Regions from separate parts of the Homo sapiens genome. Here region 2 is linked to region 1. Evidence: promoter capture Hi-C in 16 types of primary human blood cells and fetal thymus (Javierre and others, 2016). All regions are on one chromosome and are shown on one strand. The core of a region is centred on a gene start or on the middle of the fragment in contact, and the rest is flanking DNA. Distances in the headings are between cores, read along the strand shown. Region 1 holds the start of OR2AE1 (olfactory receptor family 2 subfamily AE member 1). Region 2 overlaps ZKSCAN5 (zinc finger with KRAB and SCAN domains 5).

Region 1 (5,935 bases), core at 3,267-5,766:
ATGGATATTCTGGAAGAAAAATACATTTTCTAGATGTAGTACCTACATCAACAGCATCAGCACTACTTGGGATTTATTAAAAATGTAAATTCAGAGTTTTTGAATCAGAAACTCTGAATCAGAAACCCTGGAACTAGGGCCCAGCCAACTGCTTTAACATGACCTTCAGATGATTCTAATGTGTACTCATGTTTGAGAATCGCTGCTGTAGAAGAGCATGAGAACAAGGAAGTAACATGAAAGAATTTAAATGCAAAGGAAATGGAAAATGAAGACTCAATGAAGTAGGAGTTAAAGTGAGTGTAGCGTTCAGTGAAGAAAGTGTTTCAAAAAAGGAAGGCATAATCAACTTTGTCAAAGGCTGTTGGGTACATTGAAAATTGGTCATTGATCGCTTCTTGGCCTTTTGGCTAAGAGCAAGTGAAAATTGGCCATTAAATGTGGCCACAAGGAGGCCATTTGTGACAATCATACTAATGGTTTCCATAGATTGATGATGACAAAAGCCAACTGAAGTGAGCTCAGGAGAAAATGGAAGCAGAAAAAGTGGAAATAACAAGTAAAGAAAACTGTTTCGGCCGGGCACGGAGGCTCACGCCTGTAATCCCAGCACTTTGGGAGGCCGAGGCGGGCGGATCACGAGGTCAGGAGATCGAGACCATCCTGGCTAACATGGTGAAACCCTGTCTGTACTAAAAATACAAAAAATTAGCCAGGCATGGTGGCGGGTGCCTGTAGTCCCAGCTAATCGGGAGGCTGAGGCAGGAGAATAGCATGAACCCAGGAGGCGTAGCTTGCAGTGAGTGGAGATCGCATCACTGCACTCCAGCCTGGGCAACAGAGCAAGACTCCATCTCAAAAAAAAAAAAGAAAACTGTTTCAAGGAATTCTTCTGTAAGACTGTTTAGACCATGGGTGGACGTCCAATCTTTTGGCTTCCCCAGGCCGCACTGGAAGAAGAATTGTCTTGGGCCACACATAAAATACACTAAAACTAATGACAGCTGATGAGCTAAAAAATAAATAAATAAAAGTTAAAATCTCATAATTTTTTTTATACTTTAAGTTCTAGGGTACATGTGCACAACGTGCAGGTTTGTTACATATGTATACATGTGCCATGTTGGTGTGCTGCACCCATTAACTCGTCATTTACATTAGGTATATCTCCTAAAGCTATTCCTCCCCTCTCCCCCCACCCCACAACAGGCCCTGGTGTGTGATGTTCCCCTTCCTGTGTCCAGGTGTTCTCACTGTTCAATTCCCACCTATGAGTGAGAACATGCGGTGTTTGGTTTTCTGTCCTTACAATAGTTTGCTGAGAATGATGGTTTCCAGCTTCATCCAAGTCCCTACAAAGGACATGAACTCATCATTTTTTATGGCTGCATTGTATTCTGTGTATATGGGCCACATTTTCTTAATCCAGTCTATCATTGTTGGACATTTGGGTTGGTTCCAAGTCTTTGCTATTGTGAATAGTGCTGCAATAAACATACGTGTGCACGTGTCTTTACAGCAGCATGATTTATAATCCTTTGGGTATATACCCAGTAATGGGATGGCTGGGTCAAATGGTATTTCTAGTTCTAGATCCCTGAGGAATCGCCACACTGACTTCCACAATGGTTGAACTAGTTTACAGTCCCACCAACAGCATAAAAGTATTCCTATTTCTCCACATCCTCTCCAGCACCTGTGGTTTCCTGACTTTTTAATGATCGCCATTCTAACTGGTGTGAGATGGTATCTCAATGTGGTTTTGATTTGCATTTCTCTGATGGCCAGTGATGATGAAAATGTTTTAAGAAAGTTTATGAATTTGTGTTGGGCCACATTCAAAGCCTTCCCAGGCCACATATGGTCTGCAGTACATGGGTTGAATGAGCTTGGTTTAGACTTTCCGGGATTGAGGAGAAGTTTCTTTTTAAGATGACAATCATAAAGGTATGTCTGTAGGCTGAGGTACTGATCAAGTAGACTGGGAAAATTTATAACGCAGAAGAGAGAAGAATAATTTCAAGAGCAAGATTATAAGAGATCCTTGCAGATCAGATGGTTATGATGACCTGTGTTAGTCCTCCCCCATATTGCTAAACCCAAATAATCTTGTCTCCATTGGATGAATTCTACTACTGGCCTCTTCTTGGACTTATTCTGTGGACAATTTGGCAGTAAATGGATATGTGAGTAATAGTCTCCAAATCTGGTTCTTTAGTGCTCCCACTGATTCTGACATCTTCCCATCATGCCTTCAATAAGGCTTTTTTCTGCTTGTTTCATTCAGAGTCCATTTCTGTTGCTTGGAACCAATACCCATAACTAACACAAAATCTCAGGTCACCCTATTTTTTTTTTCATTAAACACATAAGATTACTGAGGCCTTGAGAGGTTAAGTAACTTACCACTGTTATCAAGTGGCAGACTCTCCTCCAGATCATTCTGATTCCAAATCACAAGGCTAGGAACCCTCAAAGAACAGAAAGGTATTTTCAGCCTGTGAAATAATAAAAGTTAATATGCCTACCTGCTATGGCAAGTCCAACGTAGACCAAGGAAAAGCACAAGCAGATGTGTAAAAAATCTTAAGTTTCACAATGCAATTCCAAACATCTAGTCTACCACCTGGATCATACTAGGCACTCAACAAAGATTTGTTAAACACAACATGGATTACAAGAATTATGTTATATATTATTATGTATGTATACAAAATGTATTATTCTTTCCCTTATGAATTCTTACACACTGTGATTCATGGAACACTAAGGGTCTAAGAATATAACTTTTAGGGCCAGGTGCAGTAGCTCACGTCTGTAATCTCAGAACTTTGGGAGGCCAAGGTGGGCAGATCACCTGAGGTCAGGGGTTGAAGACCAGCCTGACCAACATGGTGAAACCCCGTCTCTACTAAAAATACAAAAATTAGCCAGGCATGGTGGCACGCGCCTGTAATCCCAGCTACTCTGTAATACTCAGCTACTCCTGGCTGAGGCAGGAGAATCACTTGAACCTGGGAGGCGGAGGTTGCAGTGAGCCAAGATCGTGCCACTGCACTCCAGCCTAGGTGACAGAGAGAGACTCCGTCACAAAAAAAAAAAAGAATACAACTTTTATATCATGCATCCTCCCTTTCAAACAGCCATCATTCACCATTTACTTCCCATGCTTCCAAAAGTAAGCAACACACTCCAATTTTAAACTCCATAAATACTCTCTGGTGGCATGTTTTATATATTTTTGTTAATAAAAATAATAATAGATAAGGGCCCTTATATCTTTATCTTGCCTTCTTTTTTTCAGGGTGTCAGTGACCTTTATATGTCTTCTTTCAAAGGGACTTTTTAAAAAGTTTTCCCTAATTCTCTAAAGATCTACTCAAATGTTCTCCACAGTGCTTGGATACCTGACACCAAGCTGGAATACTGGAATTGTGTGTTAAATGTGTTTTTCTTCCAGTAGTAAAACAGCATAAGGAAGCTATCTCCCTGAAAAACTTTAGAGGTTTATATGAATTAATTTAAGGAGCTTATCCTATTCCACTCTACACTCGGGGCAACCACAATTGCAGTCGTTGAATGCACTGGGTGATAACATCTCTCCTCAGCACTCTTCTCAGAGCCTTAGCTACATCTTTATTCCGGAGAGTATAAATCAGAGAATTCAATGTGGGCGTAATGATGCTGTAGAACACAGAACCAACTTTGTTCTGCAATAGAGTGCACTGGGACCTGGGTCTCATGTAGGAGAAGATGCAGGCACCAAACCAAAGAGAAACCACCGTGAGGTGGGAGCCACAAGTGGCAAAGGCATTTCTCTTGCTCCCAGATGAGCGCATCTGAATGACACTTTGAAGGATGAAGACATAGGATGTAGAAATCAGGAAGATGGGGAGGAGGAGGAGAATGCTGCTGATGTACACTGTGGTCTCATACACAGTGATGTCGCCACATACCAACTTCACAACAGCTGGGAACTCACAGTAGAAGTGGTAGACTTTCCGAGGCCCACAGAAAGGGAAGTGCATCAAGATCGCCATGTGAATTAGGGAGTTCACGGATGCCCCCAACCATGACATGACAGCCATCATCAGTCCCACCTTCTTGTTCATGAGCACAGCATAGCGCAGTGGATGACAGATGGCAACATAGCGGTCATAGGACATGACAGCTAAGAGAAAACATTCAGCACCACCTAGACACAAATAGAGGAAGTGCTGGGTTGCACAGCCCACAAAGGAGATAGATTTCTTGCCAGATAGGTAGTTGGTAGCCATCTTCAGGATGATTGTGGAGACATGCATCAGATCCATGAGGGAGAGCTGGCTGAGCAGGAAATACATTGGTGTATGAAGCTGGGGATCAATGCAGATGAGGAGAATGGTGAGGGTGTTGCCACTCACCGCAATAAGGAAGACCACCATGGTCAAGGAGAAAAGGAAAAGGTGGGTAAGGGAGTCATCGAAGAGCCCCTCAAGGATGAAGTCTGCCAGAGAGGTCTGATTCTTCTGCCACATTGTCCCCTTTCTCAATCCCTGAGGAAACAGAGAGTGGAGATAAAGAGTGTGACTGGAAATACTGGGGTCCAGTATACCCAAGGAAAAGCACCTTTTGATAGAGGACAGAACCTGTGAAAAAAATTTCCGTTTCTAATTATTCAACCTCTCTAATTATTCAAATAACCTTTTTTTAAAAGAGAGCTTAGAAATCTGCCTTCACAAACATAATCACTCTGAAATTTCAGAATATCTGGACTCTATTATCAAACTTCAAGTCTCTTCTCGTTAAGAAAGATATATATGTGTGTGTGTGTGTGTGTGTATGTATATGTATGTGTGTATATATTTATTCCCCATTTACTTCCTAGGCTTCCAAAACACACATATGTATACACACACACACACACACACACATTTGTCTTTCTTAATGAGAAGAGACTTGAAGTTTGATACTTAATGGAGTCTAGATATTCTGAGATTTCAGAGTGATCATGTTTGTGAAGGCAGATTTTTAAGCTCTCTCTCTCTATACAGACACACACAGAGAGACAGTTTGGAGAAAAGCTTGGGGGCGTTGCTTATTTTATCAGTGAGGATTTTACTAGAAAAGCTATAACACTAAGAGATTTCTCTTATACAATTGTGGAAGCTGGTTAGGCAATCTATGCGTGGCTGTTACCTTTGTGTCTGATGCTGGAACTTTAATTCCAGAGGGCAAGTAGTCAGGAAAAAAAAAATGGATATAAAGAGTGGCAGATCAAAGTCATGCTGGAACCCACAAGCATGAGCTGCAATCCCACAAAGGCAGACTGAAACCCATGTCAGTTCTTGTTGTCTCTGAAATTGGCGGTGTGGATATCCTGCAGAAGCTGGGGCGCCTCTTTTTTTTTTTTTTTTTTTTTTTGAGTTGGAGTCTTGCTCTGTCGCCCAGGCTGGAATGCTGTGGCCCGATCTCGTCTCACTGCAAGCTCCGCCTCCCGGGTTCATGCCATTCTCTTGCCTCAGCCTCCGTAGTAGCTGGGACTACAGGCGCCTGCCACCACACCCGGCTAATTTTTTGTATTTTTAGTAGAGACGGGGATTTCACCGTGTTCGACAGGATGGTCTCCATCTCCTGACCTCGTGATCCCCCCGCCTCGGCCTCCCAAAGTGCTGGGATTACAGGCGTGAACCACCGCACCCGGCCGCTGGGGCGCTTCTTAATGGCCAGATTAAAAATGCACACACCTGGCCGGGCGCGGCGGCTCACGCCTGTAATCCCAGCACTTTGGGAGGCCGAGGCAGGTGGATCACGAGGTCAGGAGATGGAGACCATCCTGGCTAACACGGTGAAACCCCGTCTCTACTAAAAATACAAAAAATTTGCCGGGCGTGGTGGCGGGCGCCTGTAGTCCCAGCTACTCGGGAGGCTGAGGCAAGAGAATGGTGTGAACCCA
Region 2 (6,054 bases), core at 545-3,044, 350 kb before region 1:
TATTTTTAGTAGAGATGTGGGTTTCACCATGTTGGCCAGGCTGGTTTCGAACTCCTGACCTCAGGTGATCTGCCCGCCTCGGCCTCCCATAGTGCTGGGATTACAGGTGTGAGCCACCACGCCCGGCCTTTTGACTTCTTAATAATGGCCATTCTTGCAGGAGTAAGGCAGTACCTTATTGTGGCTTTAATTTGCACCTTCCTGATGATTAGTGATGTTCAGCATTTTTTTCATGTTTGTTGGTCATTTGTATATATTATTTTGAGAACTGTCTCCATGTCATTTGCCTACTTTTTGATGGGATTTTTTTTTTCTTGTTGACTTGTTAGAGTTACTTGTAGATTCTGGATATTAGTCCTTTGTCTGATGCATAGTTTGCAAATATTTTCTGCCATCCTGTGGATGAGTCTTGCTCTTTTCGTCAGAAAATTCCAAAAGTTTGTTGTTTACATTCCTGTTGGCATCAAGTACACACACACATCCACCTCTGTTACTCCCGTTACATCATAGTTTCATCTGATGAACATTTTTTATGACAGTTTATTTTTCCTTTATAAAAGAACTGATGGGCCAGGCACGGTGGCTTAAACCTGTAATCCCAGCACTTTGGGAGGCTGAGGCGGGTGGATCACCCAAAGTCAGGAGTTTGAGACCAGCCTGGCCAACATGGCAAAACCCCATCTCTACTAAACATACAAAAATTAGCTGGGTGTGGTCATGCACGCCTGTAGTCTCAGCTACTTGAGAGGCTGAGGCAGGAGAATCACTTGAACCCAGGAGGCAGAGGTTGCAGTGAGCCGAGATCGCATCATTGCACTCTAGCCTGGGCGACAGAGCAAGACCCCATCTCAAAAAAAAAAAAGAACTGATGACATTTTCACTTGCTCTTTATTTTTTTTAGGCAGTGACAAAAGAAGTAAGAACACAAAATTAAGTGTTAAGAAGAAAATTTCAGAATATTCAGAAGCAGACATGGAACTATCTGGAAAAACCCAAAGAAATGTTTCTCAAGTTCAAGATTTTGGAGAAGGCTGTGAGTTTCAAGGCAAGCTGGATAGAAAGCAGGGAATTCCCATGAAAGAGATACTAGGACAACCATCTTCAAAGAGGATGAACTACAGTGAAGTCCCATATGTCCACAAAAAATCCTCCACTGGAGAGAGACCACATAAATGTAACGAGTGTGGGAAAAGCTTCATTCAGAGTGCACATCTTATTCAACATCAAAGAATACACACTGGGGAGAAACCATTCAGGTGTGAGGAATGTGGGAAAAGCTACAACCAACGCGTGCACCTAACTCAGCATCAGCGCGTCCACACAGGTGAGAAGCCCTACACCTGTCCCTTATGTGGGAAAGCCTTCAGAGTGAGGTCCCACCTTGTTCAGCATCAGAGCGTGCACAGTGGGGAGAGACCCTTCAAGTGTAACGAATGTGGGAAAGGCTTTGGGAGGCGTTCCCACCTGGCTGGACATCTTCGACTCCACTCCCGAGAGAAATCCCATCAGTGTCGTGAATGTGGGGAAATCTTTTTTCAGTACGTTAGCCTAATTGAACATCAGGTGCTCCACATGGGTCAGAAAAATGAAAAAAATGGCATCTGTGAGGAAGCATATAGTTGGAACTTGACAGTGATTGAAGACAAGAAGATTGAGTTACAAGAGCAGCCTTATCAGTGTGATATCTGTGGAAAAGCCTTTGGTTATAGCTCAGACCTCATTCAGCATTACAGAACTCATACAGCAGAGAAGCCCTATCAATGTGATATATGTAGAGAAAATGTTGGCCAGTGTTCCCACACCAAACAACATCAAAAAATCTACTCCAGCACAAAATCCCATCAATGTCATGAATGTGGCAGAGGCTTCACTCTGAAGTCACATCTTAATCAACATCAGAGAATCCATACTGGTGAGAAACCTTTTCAATGTAAAGAATGTGGAATGAATTTCAGCTGGAGTTGTAGCCTCTTTAAACACCTGAGAAGCCATGAGAGGACAGATCCCATAAATACCTTAAGTGTAGAGGGGTCTCTGTTGTAGAATAGCTCTTAATTTTAGAGAAACCTTCCTGGAGGGAAACCATACTCCTATAATGAGCAAAGTAACAACTTCAAGCATTTTTCCAGCGTTACCATCAAACTCACAAATAGGTTGAAATCCTTTAGTTATAACTCAGCCTTTAGGAACACCGGAGAACCCACAATAATAGAAATCTTTTCGTGTTCCCCATTGAGAAATGCTTTAGTTAGCATCTTCATGCTTGGAAATCTAGACAAGAAGAGAATCCATGGATGGACATGGTCGAGGAATTCGGAAAGCCTGCAGTTGACATTCAGTCTTCACTTGAAACTCAAAACTGACACTAGGAACAGCTTCATGAGTTCAGTAGAAGTAAGCTTTATTTGTAGCTTCTGCCTTGTTTGACGGCGTATCTATTCAGGGAAGCGCACAGTAAAAGAATTCCTTAGCATGATGTCTGTTTTGGTACCTCAGCAATGAACCTTTTCTAGAAATTATTATTCCAACCACTAGAATACCCTAGTCACTATTCCCACTTTGAGCATTAACCCCTTTGAAAAGAAATGGACTTAAAGTATCTCTGTTTTGGCAAAATTCAGGTTCAGGGGCTGGATGGTATGTGTTTCTGCTGCCTTATTCAATCCACCACTTCTCTGTGAAACACTCTACCTTGTTTTTGGTTTGATTCTACTGATGTCAGGGTTTAGCCGGTAGAAGGAGTAGTTCAGTTTGTCAATTCAGGAGAAACTGTACTGGTCAGTCACATCTTACGGCGAAGGGAGAGGGACCTTAGGGGAGCAGAGAAGACAGGCAAAGTTGTGGACTGTTTGATCTTGTATTACCCACAGGAATGAGGGCAGCTAAACCCATAGAAGGAGTTGGACCAAGGCGAATTACGAGTCCTGGTCCCAGCAGTATGTGTGCTGACTTCTGGGTGCCCCAGAAATAGACCTCTCCTGTAGAGTGGTGATATACAGAATGAGTTTCAGTTTGCATTGCAGCTGGGATTGAAAGTAATCAGTCGTGAGCAGGCAGGCAGGAGGTCCTGTTAGCCCTGCCTTCCAGGAAGGTTGGGGTGGGAGTTTTGAGTGGGAAAGAGGATGACATGTGTGAGAGAGTTCTGAGCCTGTTTGCTAGGGAGAGTGAGTGAGTGCTCTTGGGCACTGCTCAGGCCGTTTCTGCTGACTTGCCTGGCTTACAATAAATGCCCAATAAATATTTGTTGACCATATGTGTTGTACACTGTGGTGCCCTGTCCAGTCCCCTCTACCAAGCTGAGACCCCCATCCCCAGCTGCTCTGAGTTTGGGCTGCAAGTGCTCACAGCTCTTGTTCTCCAGAAACTGGAGAATTGCCCTCAGGAGATGAGAGCCATCTCACCTCACCCAGGAGTCACTTCCTCTCTACACCCCAACACCTGGTTCATTTGATTAAAGCGGAGAAAACTCCAGGGTGCTATGACTGCTCTGGCACCCTTGGATCAGGCCAAGCTAGACTTTTTCTGAGCCTTCATCCGTGCTAAGCTCTCTCCCTTCTCTATCCTGTTTCATTCCCTCCCTCAAAGGCGTTTCCCAAATAAATCACACTGTCAATCACATGGTTCTGAATCCCTGTCTCAGGCTCTGCTTTAGAGAACCTGATCTAAGACATTTGGTGCCACAAGTGGTCATAGGAAGCTGCTGTGAGAGTGGATTGTGGAGTTGGTCACTCGCCAGGAGGGAGTGAAGACCCGCATCACTGTTAATAGTCCTGGCATGTGGTACCTGTCCAGTCACTAAGTCATTCACTTGTGGGGAACTGGGATGAGATACAGGTGGAAAGCGATCTATTGACTTGTAGAGGTTTGGGACAAACAGGAAAATAAAGATTATGGAATTGGGTGGCTCTTGCTGAAAGTCACTGAATCCTTGAAGAGAAGAAAATGACAGGGCAAATAACCACCAATTTAATGCCAAGTGTGTGTCAGAGGACCTTCTTGGTAGCTTTTTAATTTTTTTATAGACAGGGTCTTGCTCTGCTGCCCAGGCTAGAGTGCAGTGGTGCAATCACAGCTCACTGCAGCCTTGACCTCCCGGGCTCAAGTGGTCTAGCCACCTCAGCCTCCTGAATAGCTGGGACTACAGGCACATGCCACCATGAGTGGCTAATTTTTAAAAAACATACTTTAGCTGGGCGCGGTGGCTCATGCCTATAAACCCAGCACTTTGGGAGGCTGAGGCGGGCAGATCACGAGGTCAAGAGATCGAAACCATCCTGGCCAACCAACATGGTGAAACCCGGTCTCTACTTAAAATACAAAAATTAGCTGGGCATAGTGGCGCATGCCTATAGTCCCAGCTACTCCAGAGGCTGAGGCAGGAGAATCGCTTGAACCCGGGAGGCAGAGGTTGCAGTGAGCTGAGATCACGCCACTGCACTCTAGCCCAGTTGACAGAGCGACAGTGTCTAAAAAAAAAAAAAAAAAAAAAAAAAACATTTTTTGGAGAGATGGTATCTCCCTATGCTGCCCAGAGTGGTCTCGAACTCCTGGGCTCAAGTGATCCTCCAGCCTTGGCCTCCCAAATGTTGGGATTACAGGCATGAGCTACTGCACCTGGCCTTGGAGTGATTCTTGAAAGCTTAGAAAAGTCAGTGGCCCACATTAAATGACGTAGAGATGACAAAACCATGGCAGACTTAACAAAGGGATCCAAAGATTCATACATACACAAACTAGGATGGAACTAGAAGATAAGACCAAGCAACCCACCTTCAGTTATGTTCCTTAGGAGGGTCTGGAGAGCATTCTGTTTACCAAGGTTCCAAGGAATGCCCTGGTTGGGGGGCCATCAGCATCACTGAGAAGCTTGGTAGTGGCTATCCTGGTTTGCAGGGGCTGGTTATTATATAACATCACCCCAGACCATTCACATTACAGCCAGAGGTGCAGCAGTGGGCATGTGGCCATGGGGACCATTGTTTGTTTGTTTTTTGTTTTTTGAGACAGGGTCTCGCTTTGTCACCCAGGCTGGAGTGGAGTGGCATGATTACAGCTCACTGCAGCCTCAACTTCCCGGGTGCCAGCGATCCTCCCACCTCAGCCTCCCAAGTAGCTGGGACCAGAGGCATGTGCCACCATACGTGGTTCATTTTTGTATTTTTGGTAGAGACAGGGTTTTGCCATGTTGCCTGGACTGGTCTCAAACTCCTGAGCTCAAGCAGTCCACCCGTCTCAGCCTCCCAAAGTGCTGGCATTACAGACATGGGCCACAGCACCAGGCTATTTATTTTCTATTTTTGGTAGAGATGGGGTCTCACTATGTTGCCCAGGCTGGTCTTGAACTCCTGGGATCAAGGAATACTCCTGTCTCTGCCTCCTAAAAATGTTGGGATTATAGGCATGAGCCATCATGCTTGGTTCATACACTCTTTAAACCAACAGCCATTAAAAGGTGCTGTCTTTAATAGGCAGAATAAGGCCAGGCACTGTGGCTCATGCCTGTAATCCCAGCATCTTGAGAGGCCAAGGCAGGAGGATTGCTTGAGCCCAGGAATTCAAGATCAGCCTGGGCAACATAGTGAGATCCTCCCTACTCTGCCAGTGCCCCACCGTCTACAAAAAATAAAATAGATTAGTTGGGTGTGATGCTGCATGCATCTGGACCTAGTTACTTGGGAAGCTGAGGTGGGAGGATCACTTGAGCCCAGGAATTAAAGGCTGCAGTGAGCTATGATCACACCACTGCACGCTAGCCTGGGCAACAGAGCAAGACCCTATTGCAAATAAATAAATAAATAAATGAAATAATGGAATAGTGTTTCAGAATTCTTCTGCAGCATTGTGCCCAGTCTCTTTAAAACATTGGGGTGGGCCAGGCACAGTGGCTCATGCCTGTAATCGCAGCACTTTGGGAGGCCGAGGCATGTGGATCACTTGAGGTCGAGAGTGAGGACCATCAGTCTTGAACTGATGAAAAAAAAAAAGAAGATGAGGTCTTACTGGGATGGGATGAGCCCCTAATCCAAAGTGACTGGTGTCCTTATGAGAAGCTGA

Evidence for each region. The method cuts DNA at HindIII sites, captures the fragments that hold promoters and counts their contacts. A CHiCAGO score of 5 or more calls a contact.
Region 2: a contact is called between a fragment that was not itself captured here and the fragment with the promoter of OR2AE1 in region 1, in 4 of 17 cell types (M2 macrophages, M0 macrophages, erythroblasts and 1 more). The highest score is 7.1, in M2 macrophages.

Annotation. Positions count from the first base shown.
Region 1 is chr7:99,872,517-99,878,451 of GRCh38, forward strand. It overlaps OR2AE1 (olfactory receptor family 2 subfamily AE member 1), which reads right to left and starts at 4,517. Exons shown (of 1, transcript NM_001005276.1): 1 at 3,546-4,517. The coding sequence starts at 4,517. The coding sequence ends at 3,546. The HindIII fragment of the contact is 12,247 bases long and covers 1-5,061 here.
Region 2 is chr7:99,530,207-99,536,260 of GRCh38, forward strand. ZKSCAN5 (zinc finger with KRAB and SCAN domains 5) reads left to right here. Exons shown (of 7, transcript NM_145102.4): 7 at 902-4,494. The coding sequence ends at 2,043. Among named protein-coding and RNA genes, the nearest start is that of FAM200A, 19 kb to the right of the region's middle. The HindIII fragment of the contact is 1,206 bases long and covers 1,192-2,397 here.